Regions from separate parts of the Homo sapiens genome. Here region 1 is linked to region 2. Evidence: promoter capture Hi-C in human tissues and cell types (Jung and others, 2019). All regions are on one chromosome and are shown on one strand. The core of a region is centred on a gene start or on the middle of the fragment in contact, and the rest is flanking DNA. Distances in the headings are between cores, read along the strand shown. Region 1 has its middle 240 kb from the start of XYLT1. Region 2 holds the start of XYLT1 (xylosyltransferase 1).

Region 1 (4,895 bases), core at 1,699-4,198, 240 kb after region 2:
CCTGTAGTCCCAGCTACTCAGGAGGCTGAGGCAGGAGAATGGCGTGAACCCGGGAGGCAGAGCTTGCAGTGAGCTGAGATTGCGCCACTGCACTCCAGCCTGGGCGACAGAGCGAGACTCCGTCTCAGAAAAAAAAAAAAAAAAAAAAAAAAAAAAGAATAGTGAGACTATATAGGTTGGTCATAATTCGTAGATCTGTGTACCTGAAATGGATAACTTTGCTGTTACCCTAAATTTTAGCTCAATGAACTTGAAAAAAGAAGGGGATAAGAAGAACATACACCAAAAAATTTTAAGTGTTTTAAGTAATCATAATGGAGATGATATGATTATTATTATATTATTACTATTCAGGGACTGTTATATACGTAAAATTGGATAAAATGAGGAATTATAATTTTATCATCCTCTAGGTCCTTGAAAACTAAGTTTCTTGGAATGGAAGAGTACTTATTGATATAATAGAAATGAGGTTTAAAATAAAACCTCAGAAATCTTGACTTAGAATTAGAAATATCAATATGAATCCATGAGATATTTTGTATATTATGTTATAATTTGTTTCTTAAAAACTTCTAGAGACAACAACCAACTCAACAGCAATGAATATCCCTAAGTGCCCAAGTTATGGTCTTGAAATACCATTCATCTAAAAGACACCAGGGCTTCTTGGAGAAATAGCTGATTCCAAGTGTGGGATCAGAAATATACAGGACTAGCCTGGAATACAGTATAATTCCAGATAGGATTACAGCTGTCAAAGACCACAAGGGTCACATAGAAAAGGCCCAGTAGCAAACTCAAACAGGCTTGCATTGGCAAAGATGGGAGAAGTTGAACTTCAACAAAGATAATAAGGGGTAGTGAATTAAAATTCCAGTATGTTGAAGCCTATGAGTTCATAATGCAATTTGTAAAAAGAACAAACAAACAACAACAAAAAAACTGATACCTTTTGGGGATGACAAGAAACCAATTCATTATATTGAAAACTGGTAAATAAAGAAAAATAAGCACATATTCTGCATTTTTCATGTGAACATACTGGGTAATCACATAGTAAACGAAATAAACGGCCTCTGTCAAAGTGCTTGACTGATAAGTGAAACACAAATCATAGCATCAGAACATTATCGTGTTAGGCTGAATAAGAGCCCCCTGAATTGTCCAAATATTAATCCCTAGACCTATGAATGCTATCTTATATGGCAGCAAAAGGGTTTTTGCAGGTGTGACTAAGAATCCTGAGATAGGGAGGTGATCTTGATGGGCAAGATGTAATCTCAGGGTTCCTTATAGGAGGGAATCAGAGAGACGAAAGACAAAACAGTAGTGAAAGCACAGAGAAATCTGAAGATGCTAAATTGCTGCCTTTGAAGATGGGTGAAGGGGCTATGAGCCAAGGAATCCAATTCCCAACTCTGGAAAAGGTAAGAAAACAAATTCTTCCCTGGAGACTCTTAAGGGAGCGAACTCCTTAGTTTCAGCCCAATGAACCCACTTGGGACCTTGGGCCTATAGAACTCTAAGAATAAATTTGTGTCATTTTAAATAGCTAGGTTTGTGGCAATTTGTTACCACAGCCATTGAAAGAAAATAAGACAATCAACATTTTGCAACCACCAATAAATAAATATGTTACAATTTTAAAAGTAAAAATTAAAAAGAAACAGAAAAAAGGCTGAGAGATTAAGAAATACTGAAAACAGGCAACAGAGGCTGAACACAGGGATAGCAGGAATTTGTGCAGATGAAAACCAAAGCAAGGGAACAGAAGAAATCCTAAAAATGCTATTTCAAGAAAATATTCCTTAAATTAAAAAAAAACAATTTGAAACTACATTTTTATTTATTTGTTGTTGTTATTATTTTTAAGATGGAGTCTTGCTCTGCTGCCCAGACGGGAGTGCAGTGGTGTGATCTCGGCTCACTGCAACCTCTGCCTCCTGGGTTCAAGCAATTCTCCTCTCTCAGCCTCCAGAGTAGCTGGGTTAACAGGTGTGTACCACCATGCCCGGCTAATTTTTGTATTTTTAGTAGAGATGGGTTTTCACCATGTTGGCCAGGATGGCCTCCATCTCTTGACCTTGTGATCCATCCACCTTGGCCCCGCAAAGTGCCGGGATTACAGGCAAGAACCACCGTGCCCAGCTGTAATGTTCACTTTATAAAAATTCATTAAACCATACAATTGACTTGTGTGTTTTTCTGTATCTGTGTGTTGCCTTAGGACTATAATTATGACGTTTAATGAAATAAAATACAGGCTTCAGACAGCCTTCATTAAACAGAAGACTATTAAATAGATGACAAGAAATCAAAAATCTAAAGATAAAACATATATAAATGGTTTAAAAAAGTCAATGAGCAGGTTTAACTTCAGATTAGATACAAATGTAGAAGAATAGGGGAACTGGAAGACAAGTCGAAAGAAATTATGAAGCAGCAGCTGAGAGACGACCCAAACAGACCAGGGAATTCTAACGTATTTATAATCAGAATTCAAGCAGGTGAAGGCAGAAAGAATGAAGAAAAGCAAACCTATGATGATATTATGAGAATTTTTCAGAATGATTACAGGAGAGTAAACACAGAGTCAAGGAGCCCAATAAATATCCAGCAGGAAGAAAAGCAAAACAAACAATGAAACCCCTCATCTAGACATGTCAGACTGAAATGGCAGAATACTAGCTACAAAGAGAAGAACATAAAAGAAGTCAGAAAAAAATTACCTTCAAAAGATTTACAGTTAGCCCTACAGCTGACTTCATTAGTAACAATAGAATAAAGATCATTCTGAAGGCTTAGTCTCTGAAGATGGCAAGGGGGAAAACTTTAAAGAGGGAAAGACTTCAGATTTTAATTTAATTTCTGCAGGCCTGTAATGCATCTCATTAAAATTACCACAAGAAGGAAAGAAGAGGAAAGGAGGGAGAAGGTAGGAAGGAAGAAAAAGAGATAAGGAGAGGAGAGAGGAATAAAACATAAATTTAAGTGCAGAGTCCTTAATTCCTGTCTGGCCCCATATCACAATATTCAAGGCAGTGGTGGCCTAATAAATGTTTTAACAGATGGATCTCTGAAACAAAAAGCCAAGATTCTGTAGCATTTGCCAATTTCTATGGAGAAAGCACCCATACAAAGCCTGATTTCAAGCTACTACCATGACATCACTGAGCTTGGATTTGGGAAGTTATATGCATAGTCAGCTCCCTCAATCTGGTAGGAGGAGATGGTTCCAACACCGTTGCTGGTTTCAAGGTCTCACACGCTGCTATTAGTGGGCCAGTCCAAAAATCAAATCTGTATCTCTCAAAAGTCCCAATCCTTTCCTCTTGATGCATCTAAAAATGTGATTACCACCTTCTTGGTATGAAGAAGCCCAGGTTCAATTTAGAGCGATTTCAGTGTCTGGACCATTGCGAGGGAAGTTAGTTGCTTAGTAGAGGCTGGTCTTGTAGGTGATGTCCAAAGTATACTAGCTTAGGAGAAGCCATTGGTCCTCTAGAAGTCATAGGTACTAGGCAAAAATCTTTTCTTAGAAAAAAACAATTATTTGACAGTGTGCTGATTAGGAGGATTCCAAATCTAAATAAGCCCAGTCCTTCAGGTTAAAAGTGTTTTGATTTCCTCACTTAACCATTTACACACACCACCCAATATAGTCTAACCATAGTGCAAAAAGTTATCCCACAGGCAAGTTTGTTTACATGTTTGCAGACACTGTATTGGTTTTCAAGTCGAAAGCCAATAACCCCTATGGAACATGCCCTATAGATTACAAAAGTTTACTAAAAACTGTTAAGTTTTAATAATAGACTACAACTTGAACACTTGGCATATTCTGTAATAAGAAAAACACAAACTTATGTACACGCATACAACTTCCCTTATCTTGTATTCTAGAAAATGAGAAAGATTGGAGTAGTCATGATTGGGCACAGTCCCATTTCATGCAAGTTTAAACTTCCTTGGGTTGGGACTAGTTTCACTTGGGCCACCTCTTGGTCTACTGGTATGAGAAATTAGAAATGTAGAGATCCTCGGGCACCCCCAGAATGGCTTAGTTTAGAGTCTACTAACTGTAGCATTGGTGAAAAACAGGCCACGGGGGGATAGCCCTATTTGAAGCCTTCTCATAGGTTGAAACCTTAGATGCTTTGGACCTTAGCACTTAGCTAACACACAGCTGCTTCCTGCCATAAGCTAACTGCCGACATACAAGATGAGAAGTCTTCCTAAGGTCTATGTATCTTAGACGCCCAGAACCACCATTTGCTATGTTTTTATGGATCAGTGCCAAAAAGAGACCATTGGTCTAGTTTCTCTCTATGCTTATAATTACTTTCATTATGATTATCCCATTACTCTGCTCTTCCACTGACTCTTAGTTAGGTACCCTCCAGCCCTCTTAGTAGAACGTCTTAAGTGAAATAATCGGGACCAAGTATTGTGGGAATGTTAGCGTCTTCTTAGAAAACCCCTGGCCTCTATATGCAAAGTGCCCTTCTCCCCTTTGCAGACAAAGAGAAGTGTGTAGGTAGGGCCTCTATGTCAAATCGAAGACCTCATTATAATAGTTTCCAAATCTAGGTCTGCTCAGCTTATATCTGCTTATTAAAGAGCATAGACAGCTGCTCTCAATTGACCTTCTTTTCCCCACCAGAATGAAGAGCAGCTGGCAGCTTCTTTAGCTAAAGAAGGGAAAAATCTGGTTTGGCTATTCCACTCCACAGGGACTCAGTATGAACCTACTGTCAAAATCAGGGAGAAGCTTCCACTAACAAGACTGATGGATAAAACTGAAAATGGGCATGTAAATGTCTCACTAGACATACTGTAGGACACTCACTCTCCCTACAGCCCCTTGTATCTCCTGCACACATCTCTTCGAC
Region 2 (5,337 bases), core at 964-3,463:
CCCACTCTGACCCCCAGATGCAAATGATACAGTAAGCCCCAGGCTTCCCCCACCATGTCTCCCCTACACGTTCTTACACTGGACCAGCAGGACACGACCCACAACCCTCCCACCCCACCTCCTGGGCTCTGGATGCACAAAGAACTTCTAATTGCATTTCTGCGGGAACCCATCACTATCAACTCCAAGAGTTCAAAGGCAGCGTTTCAGAGTACCCCTCTCTGTAAAGAAGAGATCGCAGGACACTAGGAATGTTCTGGTTCTCCGTCAGGCAGCTCACGCCACTATTCTCCCCGCAAATGAGGGAAAGACTTCTCCCTGCTACCCACACAGCAACGTGAAATGCCATCACATCACGTCTTGGGACTGGCTCAGTTCTCAGGCATGAAGAGCTGCACTCCGGCAGAAAGGGTCGCACAGACTCCGAAGAAGTTTAGCAGCTCAGAAAGCATCACGCTGTGTACTAAGGCAGTCTTCAGTGAGGACTTCCAAAGTGACAAATGATAGAAATATGCATTCAGTCTTCAGGATCCTGAAACCATCCCCCTGGTGTCTAATATCCTTTAACGGCTAGGCAAATCCTTGCAGACAAGTAGTGTGATGAAGAAACAGACAGACACACAACACATTGGCTATGCCCTAAGGCAGAACTCACGCCCCTGGAGAACTGAGACCTTGGCTCTGAAATGGGGACTCCGGCCTCCTGCCCCATGTGCTCCTGCTCCTAGCTCAGTAGGCTGGGCAAGGCAGCCCAGAGAAGGTGGGAAAGGTATCCCTGGAGAAGTTAGGGACAGGGTAGGAAGACAAGTCAGTTCCCCACCCAGCCACCCAGATGGCCCCAGATCTGCGGAAAAAACAGTTTCAGAGCCCTGACTGTTCACACCCACGAAGGGCAAAGTAATCCCATAGGAGTGGAAGCCCTGACGGTGTGGTCGGACACACAGCTGGTGACCTGAACCGGCCGCAACAAGACAGAAAGACAGAGACAACCAGCTAGGAGAAGGAGCCATGCCCTGAAACTGGAGATGGGGAGGAGATAAAGTCACAGAGGGCATGGGAGACGGCAAGGTTAGAGACAGAGAAGGTGAAGACGGAAGGCTCAAACATCCAGAGAAGAGAAACAGAAGACCCAAAGTAAGACCAGACACCCCGGACTGAGTATTGATTCAGGGGCATGGTCGGGGACTTGGGACGCCCAGCTCAGCCCTCATCGCAGGCCAGGACGAACAGAGGGCTCAACTGTCTGCACCCAGCTCGGCAAAAACCAGAGAGATGCTGCTGCGACAACCGCCCAGGAACAGCGGCTGAGGATCCGGGGAGATCCACTCACTCAGGCAGGGAGCGAGTCACCAAGACCTACACGCACGGAGCAAGTCACCTGGGGTCCCCAGCAAGAGTGATGGGGAACAGGAACCCAGCCAGGCTCCGGTAACCCCCAAAGCGCCCCCGCTGGAGAAAACTTCCCCCAGACCCCAAGGGGTCCGTGCTCAGACTCTGAAAGGGGCAGCCCACGACCCCTGAGCCTTGGCAGGGACCCCACCCGGCTTCCCGGGGCAAGAGGCGATGTGGAGTCGGTAGGCTTGCAGAGTCCCAGTCTGATGACCGAGTTCAAGGGCTAGGGGGGCGTGGGGTCGGGCTGCCTTCCTCCCTCCCTCGCCGCGGGGCGCGAGCCGAAAGGGCATCTTACCAGAGCCCGGGCGGGCAGTGCCCCCCGGCTGGCCGGCTGCTGTCCCCGCGGTTCTCCGGGGCCGCCTCCCCGCGCCCGCGCCTGGGGCCCCCGTCCTCCTCCTCCTCCGCCGCCGCCTCCTCCTCCTCCTCGGGCTGCAGCCGGCTCGGCGGGCAGGTCCCGGCGCTCCCGGCGCGGGGCCGGGGCCGGGGGCGGCTGCTCCCCGCCGCCGACCGCTGCGCCCCCGCGGCGCTCCCCGGCCCCGGAGTCGAGGCTGCTGAAATTCCACACGACCAGCGTCTGCAGCAGCAGCACCGTGAGCGCCGCGAGCAGCGCCGAGTGCGAGCGCCGGGCCAGCCTCCGGGCGCACGGCGCCGCCACCATCTTCGGAGCGCGGCCGGCGAGCGAGGCGCGGGGACCCCGGCACGCTCCGGGCCGCCCCCGCGCTCCCCGCAGCTCCCGCGGCCGCCGGCTGCCGCTCGGGCTCCCGCTCGGGCCGCCGCCGCCGCCCCCCTCCCCACACCCCTGTCCCCGCTGGAGGGGAGGGTGATGGGGAAGGCGCCGGGGGGACGCGGGCCGAGGCGGAGAGGGCGGGGCCTGGGGGAGGAGCCGAGGGAGGAAAAGGAGGAGGGAAAGGAAGGGGGTGGGGGCGATCAGAGAAGACAGACACCCCTCAGGACGTAGTGGGAGTAGGATGGGGGGCGAGGGGGACAATTCCCAAGGCGGAAAAAGAGAGGCAGGGGCCGCGAAACAGGGGACCTTTGGTTGAGGGTGGGCCCGCTCAGAATCCAGGGGAGGTCAGGAAGAGAGGGGGTCCCGAGGTCCTGTTTTCCCTGTGGGCCGCTGGAAGGAGGCAGTGCGTGGAGGAAGCTCCTAGCCCCGGAGTTCGCGGTCCAGGGATCTTCTGTCGGTACCAGACCGGTTGGCAGGTGGACACGTGAGAAACATTTCAGGAGTGTCAGAGCCACAGTCTGATCCCTTCATCCTGGGCTTGAAGGGGTGGGGAGGAGGCTTTGGGTGAGTTTCTGGAGTTAATCAGCACAAGCTCTGTGAGTGACTCCTGAATCACACACAATCCCCGGTGCCAACGATGTACTAAGTGTTCACTGAGTCACTTCTCTGGTCCCTGAGGACTCACAAGCCAAGAGACTCCAAACCCAGTTGGCAAGTGGTATAGCGGCAAAAGGGAGACCCGTGGAGTTACTCAACCTTCGCAGGATGCAAGCCCCAAAGGCTGGCCCCGCAGCCTCCCAGCGTGTCCTTTTCCCCATCCATCCTGAAGTCCCCCTTCCTGTCTGCACAGGGCCCAGGTCCTGGGGAAACAGGTCTTGCTCTTGAAAGTGGAGTTCTTTCCCATCCTGACTGGTCTGTCCCGGTGACCTTGAGCCAGGAGGAGGAGGACTCCTCCCTGAGCCCAAGCTTTCTCCTCTGTCGTTTAGGCAGAATGATCCCAATGGACTCAAATTTCATCCCGAGCCTTCTCTGACTCAGTCTTTCTGGTTTTTCCCTCCCTTGTCCTCTTGCCCAGGGCTTTATACACAGCAGCGCAGAACAGTGAGCATATGGGATGGCGTTGGTGTCCCATACGGGACCTAGCACTCTGGGAATACAACAGCAGATCAAATCAGTTTGTGAATTGAGGACTTGGCGTGAATGCTTCGCATCTTGTCTGCTGTGCTTTTTCACCTCATCCTAATTTACAAAGAGAAGAAAGTGGAGTGTAATGAAGGCTCATCAGACAATGAGGCAGGGAGTGGGAAGAGATTGTTTCATCCACTCCACAAGCATCCGTGAATACAAAGCTTGTGTCAGACACTGGGCCAGGTGCACGCATCCAAAGGTGAATGAGGTTTAATCTCATCTTCAGCAAGCCTGAGGTCTAGAGAAGCCTGATGTGGATGTTAATCATTAAAATATAGTGAGATAGGCCTGGGCGCGGTGGCTCATGCCTGTAATCGCAGCACTTTGGGAGGCCAAGACAGGAGGATCACCTGAGGTCAGAAGTTCGAGATCAGCCTTGCCAACATGGTGAAACCCCGTCTCTACTAAAAATACAAAAATTAGCCGGGCATGGTGGCACACACCCCTGATCCCAGCTACTCAGGAGGCTGAGGCAGGAGAATCTCTTGAACCCAGGAGGCAGAGGCTGCAGTGAGCCGAGATCACACCACTGCACTCCAGCCTGGGTTACAGAGCAAGACTCCATCTAAAAAACGTATATATAAATATATATATATTGTATATATATATATTATATATAATGTATATAATAAATATATTATATATAATATATTTATATATATGTACATATAATATATATAATATATAATATATAACATATATATAATATATATATTTATATGTAAATATATATAATATTATATATATATATATGGTGAGATAAGCATTGCTGTAGAGATGTGCAAAAATGCTAAGGGTTCATGAGGGCAGGACGGGAGTAAGCGCCAAGAAAAAATGCTTTCTGAACCCATGTAATTAGCCAGTCCACTTGCCTGAACAAGAAAAGTATAAAATGTATGCTAGTGGGGGTTGTAAACTCCAAACCAATCAACCTTAGTTGTATCTAAAGCTTAGCCAGGCATGTAGCCTGGCATAGAGGCCTTCCCTTTGGGCCCAGCACCCCTAACCAGGAGTAAAAGACCAGAGGCAAGTTTCTAGGGCCACCAGTCATCTGTTTATCAGTTGGGGATATTTTGTTTACAAGCAATAACATCTATTACTAACAGTAATAAGACTTAAGTCTATCTTTTAAGTCTTTTTTTTTTTTTTTTTTTTGACACAGTCTCACTCCATCACCCAGCCTGGAGTGCAGTGGTGTGATCTCAGCTCACTCCAACCTCTGCCTCTTGGGTTCAAGTAATTCTCATGCCTCAGCCTCCCGAGTAGCTGGGATTACAGGCATGTGCCACCACGCCCAGCTAATTTTTTTTTTAGTACAGACGAGGTTTCACCATGTTGGCCAGGCTGATCTCAAACTCCTGACCTCAGGTGATCTGCCTGCCTCAGCCTCCCAAAGTGCTGGGATTACAGGCATCAGCCACTGTGCCCAGCCCGGTCTGTCTTAAAAATATACTTTACTGGATCATGTAGCTGAACATTGCAGAGGAAAGGCTTCAGGTGAGGTTTGATCTAGCAACTCACAATTATCACCTGGGATTCCTTTTCTTTCCATCTCTCCTCTCTGCTTTCCATGGAGTCTACCTTATTCCCTCTTGATGTCACACGATGCCTGGCCTCAGCTGCTGCGACTACTTTGTATCCTGTGTTCATTTCTAGCCCAGGGAAAGGAGGGTCAGTATTTCCCAGGATTTTCCTCAAAGGTTCGGAGATTTTTTTTCTGATTAGACCAGTCTTAAGTTCTGGGTCACTCCGAGACCAATCAGTGTGGCCAGGAAGTTAGAAAATGCCGATCAACTTGGCCAAGATCCCATATTTCACCTCCGCCATTGGGGTGAAGCCAGCCTCCCTGTAACAACTTGGATGCCCTATAGAGATCAGGGTCTGATGGGAAAGAAGTAGGTGCAGGGAACAGATTCCATCATTTATTCCACGCAGCCTCCCGAGGTTATATGACCTTGGCCAAGCCACCTCCCCTCCCAGGACTTAGATTTCTTTAGTGCCAAATGAGGGGTTGGAGGAGACAGCCCCCA

Evidence for each region. Contacts are between HindIII fragments. The study calls those that stand out against the background at their distance.
Region 1: a contact is called between a fragment that was not itself captured here and the fragment with the promoter of XYLT1 in region 2, in 2 of the 25 tissues and cell types used here (IMR-90 fibroblasts and lymphoblastoid cells).

Annotation. Positions count from the first base shown.
Region 1 is chr16:17,703,616-17,708,510 of GRCh38, forward strand. No RefSeq gene overlaps it. Among named protein-coding and RNA genes, the nearest start is that of XYLT1, 240 kb to the left of the region's middle. The HindIII fragment of the contact is 4,995 bases long and covers 452-4,895 here.
Region 2 is chr16:17,468,747-17,474,083 of GRCh38, forward strand. It overlaps XYLT1 (xylosyltransferase 1), which reads right to left and starts at 2,214. Exons shown (of 12, transcript NM_022166.4): 1 at 1,688-2,214. The coding sequence starts at 2,050. LOC107987234 (a long non-coding RNA gene) reads right to left here and starts at 1,681. Exons shown (of 2, transcript XR_001752091.2): 1 at 1-1,681. It overlaps LOC105371106 (a long non-coding RNA gene), which reads right to left. Exons shown (of 3, transcript XR_933144.3): 3 at 2,261-3,358. RefSeq lists enhancers at 994-1,263, 1,384-1,433, 2,208-2,709. The HindIII fragment of the contact is 9,248 bases long and covers 1-3,276 here.